Regions from separate parts of the Homo sapiens genome. Here region 2 is linked to region 1. Evidence: promoter capture Hi-C in human tissues and cell types (Jung and others, 2019). All regions are on one chromosome and are shown on one strand. Each heading gives the region's core, a stretch centred on a gene start or on the middle of the fragment in contact. The rest is flanking DNA. Distances are from core to core; before and after follow the strand shown.

The links. The method cuts DNA at HindIII sites, captures the fragments that hold promoters and counts their contacts. A contact is called where the count stands out against the background at its distance.
Region 2: a contact is called between a fragment that was not itself captured here and the fragment with the promoter of FGF18 in region 1, in 2 of the 25 tissues and cell types used here (heart left ventricle and liver).

What each region holds. Positions count from the first base shown.
Region 1 is chr5:171,416,651-171,420,939 of GRCh38, reverse strand. It overlaps FGF18 (fibroblast growth factor 18), which reads right to left and starts at 1,293. Exons shown (of 5, transcript NM_003862.3): 1 at 709-1,293; 2 at 497-533. The coding sequence starts at 740. RefSeq lists silencers at 787-866, 927-976, 1,117-1,226, 1,347-1,456. The HindIII fragment of the contact is 5,522 bases long and covers 1-3,575 here.
Region 2 is chr5:171,749,874-171,754,644 of GRCh38, reverse strand. No RefSeq gene overlaps it. Among named protein-coding and RNA genes, the nearest start is that of SMIM23, 34 kb to the left of the region's middle. RefSeq lists an enhancer at 3,569-4,068. The HindIII fragment of the contact is 6,329 bases long and covers 1-4,771 here.

The DNA of each region.
Region 1 (4,289 bases), core at 44-2,543:
TGTGTGTCTGTGTGTGTGTCTCAGTGCTGCAAGCGCCTTCAAAACCACAGAGTAATTTACAACTGAAGCTTTCTCCCTGGACTCGAAATCCACTCGGCTGAAAGTCTTTTTGTTTGGAAGCGGCGATGTTAAGGGAAGGTTGGCAGAGAAAATCCCTAGGTCCTACCCCTCGCTGGCTGCGGGCAGGGGTCTTAGAGCTGGGTATATTGTTGCGGCTGAGCCCGCCGGCTCTGCGGGATCTCCTCCCAGCCGAGGCCGACAGTGGCCGCGACAGCCAGCGCCTCCTCGGGCCCCGCGGCAGAGCCCCTTGCCCTTGGCCGGTTCCCCGCCGGCGCAGGGCGCACGCGGAGCCGCCCTTCCGCGCCCTGGGAACAGGTGCACTGGGCTCAGCGCCCAGGAGGGGTGGGGCACAGGGAGGGGGCGCGGCCGGGGAAGGGGGGTCGGCGTGTACCGCGAGGCAGGGGCGGGAGGAGGTCAAAGTCAGGAGCCCACGTACCTGTACCTGGAAGCACAGCAGCAGGAAGTGTAAACACCTGCGGGAAACAGATGGAGAAGCGGTCAGTGGGACCTGAGGAAGGGGGCGCACGGACAGACAGACACGCAGTCGAAGAGTCAGGTGAACCGACGGGCGGGCAGACAGAGGTACAGGGCACAGGCATACGGACAGACAGCCAGGCAAGGTGGGCAGCCCCGCGCGCGGGCGCTTACAGGCAAGTGCAGGCGGAGGGCGCTGAATACATCGCTGGGCGGGAGGGAGGCGGCGGCTCCTAGCCCAGCCTGCACATGTCCGCTCCGCGCGGCCGGGACCGGGCGCCTCCGCCGCCGCCGCCGCCGCCGCCGCCGCTGCTGCTGCTCCCTCCTCGCCGGCTGCTGCTGCTGCAGACTCTGCTGCTCCGGGGCGCTCCGCGGCGCGCCCTGCGGCATCAGCGCCCCGCGCGGCTCCTCCCGAGCGCTGCGCCCTCCGGGCTGGCGCAGGGGCTGCGGGGCGGCAGCCGCTGTGCAGGAGGCGCCTGGCCGGTGCGGGGAAGCTCGCTCACTGCTGGCCGGCCGGCCGTCCGGGCGTCCGTGGGAGGCTGGCTGCCCGGCTCAGTCCGGGGACAGCATGCGCGGCGGGTCTGGAAGCCGAGTTGCGCTCTCCGGCCCGGGCGCGGAGCTGCGTGGGGCCAGGGGTCAGCGCTCCGGGGTCGGGGCGCGCGGCTGCAGCGCGAAAGCGTCACGGCCGCTCCGTCTGGGCGCCCGCCGGCTCATGTCTCCTCCTCCGCGTCTCTCCGGCCGTGCGCATCGCCGCCTCCCACCACTGGCGGCGGCCGGGGCGTTTTCTACGCGCGGGCGGCGAGGGGGCGGGGGGCCGGGGGCGGGCCCGGGCCCGAGCCGGCACAATGAGGATGCGGGGCCTGGGGGCTCCCCCCTCGGGGCGCGGCCGGACGGGCGCTCAGCTCGCCTGGGTGCGCCCAGCCCACATCAAAGGCGGCCCTGCCTGCTCGCCTGCCTGCCGCGGCCTCTCGCTGCCTCCTCCTCCTTCTCCTGGCGGCTCGGGGTTGGAGGGGAGGCGCTCAGACTCTCGGAGACGGGACCGGCAGCTCCAAAGGGGCAGGACCCGCGAGACTGAAGCTGGTGAGCGCTGGAAGCCGTCGGAGCTCTGCGCCCGAGCGCAGTGACCGCTCCTCCGCGCAAACGTTGCCCAAATTGGGCAGGCGATGCTCCCCAAGAACGCAGTTAGGTACGGAACGTCCTCACCTGCCCACATTCGCTACTCGCACTCACTCACCAGCGCTCTAGTGGAGAGCCGAGAGGGGCGGGTCAAACCCAGCCCCGGGGCGGCTCCACTGAATGGGGGTCGCTTTTACCCGCCCTGCGATCGTGGAGTTTCCCAGCCACCCTCTTGACTGGCTACCCACTTAAGTGAGCCCCCGTCCTCTTCTTACGTCCCTGCCGCTGCGAAGGGGGCTCCCGGGCATCTCTCCTTCCCACCCCTCGCCCCCTCCGGGGCTCTGGGGTCGGTTCACGGGATCCCAGCTGGACTCTCCCGTAGGCGAGCCAGCTTTGGAAACACACGGCTACCACCAAGCGGCCCCGAGACGTCACTGCAACCCCAGCACGGACGGCTGCACGCCGGGGAGCAGCCAGCAGGACTCTGGTCAGCGACCACGCTGAGGCCCTCTTCCGGCCTCCTCCCAAAACCGGACTAAGACTTGCCTCCGTTTGCATACTAGGCAGCTTCGTTCCTTTAACCAGGGCCCCATTCAGGACACTGGTTCTTACCGCCTCTGCCCCTTCCAGAGGCATAACTCCTGTCCTTCCCACCAACCCCAAAACGTAGGTGTTCTTGTCACGTACCTGCCTCACTGTCTAGAGCTGGTGTCAGCCAAGCTCTGCTTGAGCCTGATGCTAAGGAAAATAGGTCACAGTGAGAAAGACGCTGGAGGACAGGCTCAAGCAAAACTCAGGAATCTGGACTATTTGGTTAAAGCCTCCTTGCGTTGGCAATGGTTGATGGTCCACTGGAGCATAAACTGAGGTAGGACTGTCGAACAGTGCTATTTGCTGAAGCCATGACTATAAAACATTAGTAATTGTTCCAAATATCAGGCCTCCTTGCAAGCTATTTTAAGTTCCCTTTCAAAGCTGAGGCTATTTTAAACAGATAGCCTCTGTTTCAACATCGGACACAAGTGCAGAAAACCTTTTCAAAACCAGGTGCTGAGGGGGAAAATTCCTGCATGAAGCTTTTAAGCTGAATTTACTTAGACATTCTGATTGCCAGAGCTGGACTTGCAGAGTTACTCGTAACTTCCCAAGTTCTGGAGAAAATGAATCGATCCCAAGATAGGATGCAATGACCAACCATAAATAGAAATGGACAGAAATGCTCCCACCGATGACCCGAGTCATTGCCGCCGTCTTTGATCTTGCTTTATAGGAAGATTGACAAACCCAGTCGAGGAGTTTTTGGCTTACCATCTGCTAGTTTGAAGTATCTCCTGGCTAAGAATCATGCTTCCAATTTTCTATATTGTTACTATTTTTTATTACTTGTGAATGGAATGGGTATATAATTATTTATACCCTATCTAAAATGCTTGCAGTATTTTTCAATGCTCAAAGTATATTTGCCAATCTCACCTACCAAACAAATCAGACTGACCAAAAAGTCCAGCCAAGAGAACAGTTCTGAGTAAGAGCATAAACTCAGGAGTCAGAAGTACTGCATTTGAATACTGCCACCAACATTTACTTATAAATTCCAGCAAGCAACGGTTTGAGATTCTGCTTCCTCCTCTACAAAATATGGCTAAGAACAGTAACAACTCTCACAGAGTTGTGAGTACTCAATGAGTGTCTGGCACACAATGAAAACTCCAAACGTTTTAGCTGCTAACTAATAATCCTAATTATTATTCAGGTTACTTTCAGGTTATTTTCACATTTCTTTCTGAACAATTTCATGAAGTAGGGAGGCAGGATCATTTCCAATTTACAGTTGAAGAGGCATCTAGTCAGAATGTCTTTTGACTCCAAATCCATTTTATACTACACATTCTTTTCCCCACCACTCACACCCTCTAGTTTCATGCACCTATTTACCAACATGACCTATTTACCATATGCCTGAATCTTAAATGGGTTCTATCTGGATTTGGCATGTTCATACAACACTTAATATATACCACTATTTTAGTAGTCACTTCTTACTAATTCAATCACAATTTATTGAGATCCTACAGTGTCGAGCCCTCACTGAAAGACAGGCAAGGTCCCTGCACTAAAAAAGCACTTCGTTTCCACTAGGGAAGATGGGCAATAAGCAAATACACCAAGAGATAAATGCTGGCTTGTTACCAGTGTTTTGAGAGAAACCAGTGGGATAGAGAAGCCAGAAGACCTCTTGGTAACATTAAGGCCAAGACCCAAAGACAGTAGATAGCCATGCAAAGGAATATTCCAGGTAAAAGATGCAAAGTGCCTCCAGTGGAAAAAGGCTAGGCGACTGGCAGGGTTAGCCAGGGAGAGTGTGGCAAGAGATGAGGGTGAAAACAGGCAATGTGCTTGACCAGGCCTTCACAGGAAATTAAGTAGCCATCAATGGCTTAAGGGTACCAGTTTTGCAATGCATCAGTTTTAAGTGTACAGTTCAGTTCTGACAAATGTATCTAGGTACAAACACCACCTCTTCTCAGGCAATCTTCCGGCCCCCAATTGCTCGTCCCAAGCAATCATTTATCTGGCACTGGTTTATTTTCGATTTCACATAAATGGAACCACCTATTATGTGCTTGTGTCTGGCTGAG
Region 2 (4,771 bases), core at 394-2,893, 330 kb before region 1:
AAATCTTTTTATTTAGGTGCGTCTTACATACAGTAAAGCATATGGATCTTAAGTGGCTCAATGGTCTTTTAATGTATACCCTGGGTAACCAATACCCAGGTCAAGACATAGAATTTGTCCCGTACCCTAGAAGACTTCCTCATGCCTTGACACATTTTTGAGCATATATACATGAATAAACAGATTTTACAATTTTATTATATGTTTTCTTTTATAAACAACCATTAATGTCCCAGAATAAAAAAGGGAGGTGCACAAGAAAGGTCAAGCACAAAGCTGAACTAAGGACATAAAAATCTTCAATGCTAGTTGACAGTTGGTATTAAATTGTTTGACTGTTCAGAATCAGGAATCTTCTACTTAACTGAAGAGATGTGACCCAGGAAATTCTGCTGTCAGGTGAATTTCTGTAAAAAATAATCTTTTCCCATCAATTCCTACCATAAAATTGGAAACATTCTCTGGGGATCCAAATACTGGCCTCTGGCTGTAGACTTACATGTAAAAAAAAAAAAAAAAAAAGCGATTCTCTGATAAAACTTCACCAATAACACTCAAAATGTTAATTAAACTCACAAAACTCAGAATTCTCTGCAGAATTCCAAAGGAATTTCAAAATCATAGCCCTGGGAGTGAAAATGCAGTAAGGAATCTTTGGTAATGTCATGGCCTCATGTCATAACCTTCTTGCAGCAGAATAATTCCATGAGCTAAGAATTCTGGGGGCTTGGCTTTACGGGTAGTGGGTAGTGGGTGGTGGGTTCTTGGTACTAGTAGTGTGACTGACGTCAGTTTGCTTTTCTGAACCACAACTAATTCCTCTCCAGTTTTAAGATACAAATATAAAACTCCTCTCTATTTGACAAGGTTTTTTTTTTATTATTATACTTTAAGTTCCAGGGTACATGTGCACAATGTGCAGGTTTGTTTACATTTACATTAGGTATATCTCCCAGTGCTATCCCTCCCCCCTCCCTCTACCCCACGACAGGCCCCGGTGTGTGATGTTCCCCCTCCTGTGTCCAAGTATTCTCATTGTTCAATTCCCACCTATGAGTGAGAACATGCAGTGTTTGGTTTTTTGTCCTTGTGATAGTTTGCTGAGAATGATGGTTTTCAGCTTCATCCATGTCCCTACAAAGGACATGAACTCATCCTTTTTTATGGCTGCATAGTATCCCATGGTGTATATGTGCCACATTTTCTTTTTTTTTTTGAAGTTATGCAATCAGATTCATTTATTATTATTGACATATGTCTATCCTGCTGAATTTACCCTTTTACTATTATGAAATATTTCTCTAGTCTTTTATAATACATGTTTTTTAAAACCTGCTTTGTCTAATATTAATATACCTATTCCAACACTTTTTGCGGTGGGGATTGTATGCTTAATTTTGTGAGTTCTTTTACTTTCTTTTTATTATTATTATTATTATGCTTTCCAGTCTATCATTGATGGACATTTGGGTTAGTTCCAAGTCTTTGCTATTGTGAATAGTGCCGCAATAAACATACGTGTGCATGTGTCTTTATAGCAGCATGATTTGTAATCCTTTGGGTATATACCCAGTAATGGGATGGCTGGGTCAAATGGTATTTCTAGTTCTAGATCCTTGAGGAATTGCCACACTTGACAAGGCTTTTTTGAGAGTAAAGTGAGGTAATACTTAATGGGTTTTCTTGTTCATTTCTTTTGTTAATTATACACTTGAATAATATCTATTAAGAATCTTCTATGTACCCAGTACTGTGCCAGAGTATAAAGTGATGAACAAGATGGTCATGTTTTCTGCTCTTGTGGAGTTTACAATCAATTGTAGAATAGAGACATCATACAATTGTGCACAGAGCTCCATGTGAAATATGATATGGAAAGGTAGGCAGTCAATCAAAAAAAAACTTTGTTACAATAAGAAATTATAAGAACAATACCTATATGACTTTTACACAGTTTATTTTTACTGAAAATATTCACATATACATTCAGTCACCAATAGTGTGATGTAGGAAAGAGTCTTTTGTGGCGTCTGACTTTGCAGAATAAAGTTCTGTATCTTTTTTCTTTAAAGTGAAACAAAATATGTATGAATTAATACAAGTGCATAATCTTTCTAGAATTTTGTGGCTCTTGTTGCCAGTTGTTTGGAGTTTTCTCCTCACCTCCATCCAACAGATATGTTTTCTGAGACTTGCCTTTATTGATTCTTTCCAAAGTGGTCAACTTAGAAACAGCAATGTTTCTTTAATGCTCTTATTTCATTCGTTGGCATAATATTTAATTAAGTTATGTAATGACAGTACTGAATACATCTGCCATAAATGATTTAGACAGCAAATGCAATGGTCTCTTGGTCAGTAAACAACTCACATGGTGAGAGTGGAAGTTTTTGGGGTTGCTGAAGGATACCTCTATGGGACATAATGCATTTGTCTGCAAGGAACAGAATCTTTAACTGAAACAAGTTTTAAGCTTTGCTTTCAAAAAACTCTCAGTGCATAGTAAAAAAACGCATTTTAAATTGTCCCTTAGCACATATGCAAGAGTATAAACTGAAGCAAATTTTCACAAGCAGCACTTACCTTTACTTTATGTGATGCTACCTAATATTTTTGTCTATTCTTTCCTATTTTAATTCTATTAGAAATGCTAATCATGACCCACTAATATAATCTCATGTCTCATTAATGGAGTGCAACCCACAGTGTGAAAAACACCAGCTTAACCCAATAGGACATTTATTATTTTATGTAGGAAGATGTCTAGAGACGGAGAAGCCCTTGAGATGCTGCAGTAGCTCAGCAGCCTCCTCAAGGTCACAGGTATTTTCCATAGACTTCTTTCTGCGATCTTCTGAGAATTAGGAGTGTCTCCGCTCATGGTGCAAAATGGCTTCCACATCTAGCAGTTGTTACAAGTGGACACAATTTCACCCAACAAAAAAGAGGGAAAGGAAACTTTTCCCAGAAGCCCCCAGCTGCTCCTCCTCTGGTCTCATTGGCCAGGATTGGTCACACGTCTGTGTTCCAGCTGCGAGGGAGGCTGGGAAAGCAGGTGACTGGCATTTTCAGCCTCTTTATAGGGATATGTGCTCTGCCAGAAAAGACGAAGGGAAGGGGAATGTGGTTGGGAAGGGGGCCCAGTATGAAGAGCACTGAGGCTCGGCAGGCATGAGTGCTCAGCCTGCTCTGGGCATCAGTTTCACGTTACCCAGAGGGAGAGACTAGAGAGAGTTTCTTAATGCAGGGAAACTCCCTAAGTAGAAGGTGGTTAGGTGAGTGCCTAATTGCAATGTGTCAAAAGCTACGAAAAAAAGAAAAAAAAGATGCACAGCTGTTATTGGTTCATATTGCAGGGCACTTACCTGGGCCAGGGAACTGGGGAGGCCTCTTCAGGGAAGCGACTCTCTTAAGCCAGTAAGGGGAGACGGACCATGGTGGTGGGTGGTGGGAATGGTGTTCCAGGCAGAGGGAAGAGCTCACGAGAAAGCTAAGAGGAAGGAGGGATCATGGCTGAGGTGGCATATTTATTCTACTAGTTGTCCATCTCCTGTGGGCCCAGCCCTGTACTAGGCATCAATGGCTAAGAGAGTAATGGGACATCTCCTGCCCTTGGGAATGTCATCGTCCATTAGGAAGGGTGATGTATGAACAGTCGTAACTAGAAACCAAGGGGAACGTATGCCTTCAAAATGCTATGTTATCTCTTAGTGGAGGGGACTCAGGGGCCTTCCTTGGCGGCACCTAATAGGTAGGATCCGCATGTGTAGAATTAGCAGGGGTCACGCCTTCCAGTGGAAGGGCCTGCTGTGAGCAAAGGCCTGGAGGCAGGAAGGCAGAACCAGGGGTCAGCCACTTGGCTGGAGGGCTGGGCGCCTGAAGGGGAACCAGAGGGGGTAGGGCAGGGAAGGTTAGGAGGTGGCTCCAGCCAGCATTGTCCCAGCTTCCTGCATTTAACCCCAGCCATCTGCAGCCCCAACCTTGGCTAACCCTCCTGGCAGTGAGTGTGACACTGGGCCCTAGGAGACAGAAGGAATGACTCAGGCTTTGTTCTTGTTTAGCGTATTTTTTTGCCCAAAGCAGAGTGACTCCCAGGGAGAGGCCCTTGCCTGGCCCTTCTTCTTGGCACCAGCGAAGGCGCTTGCCTCTCCAGTCTCTTTGGAGAAGGACCAGTCTCTGAATGGTCAGAGTCACTGGGTCTCGTGTCTCCCAGGATCTGCTGGGAGGGCTGCCAAGGTGGCACAGGCCCTGCTAGGAGGACCTCTAGTGGCGGTGAGGCTGGGGGCTGGGACATCCATGTTCCCTGCCTGGAGGGGATGCCCAGGCCTGAAAGTCATGGGTGATGGCCCAGGCGGAACACTCAGGGCCCGAGAGAGGGGATGATGGGAGTGCTGGTGGGCAAACCTTTGTGGCGGTCTCTGGGAGGCCTAGGAGGGGCCACCAGGAAGTGAGTTGAACAGTTTCACCTTTATGTGAGGTTTCTCAACTGCTGGCATTTGGGGTGGGATAATGCTTCACTGGCAGGGGTTGTGGGATTTTTAACAACATTCTTGCTCTCTATGCACTAGATGCCAGCAGCATGCTTCTCTAAGTTGTGACAACCAAAAAAACTCTCCAGACATTGCCAAATGTCTCCTGGGTTGGTAAAATTGCCTCAGTCTGGGAATTAAGACCTTAAGGTGAATAGAGAGAAATCTCAGCGCTTTCCTGTACAGGAGCATTCTGCTAGGACCACAGGAAAAATTGCCCACCATTCTGGGACCATGGAGAT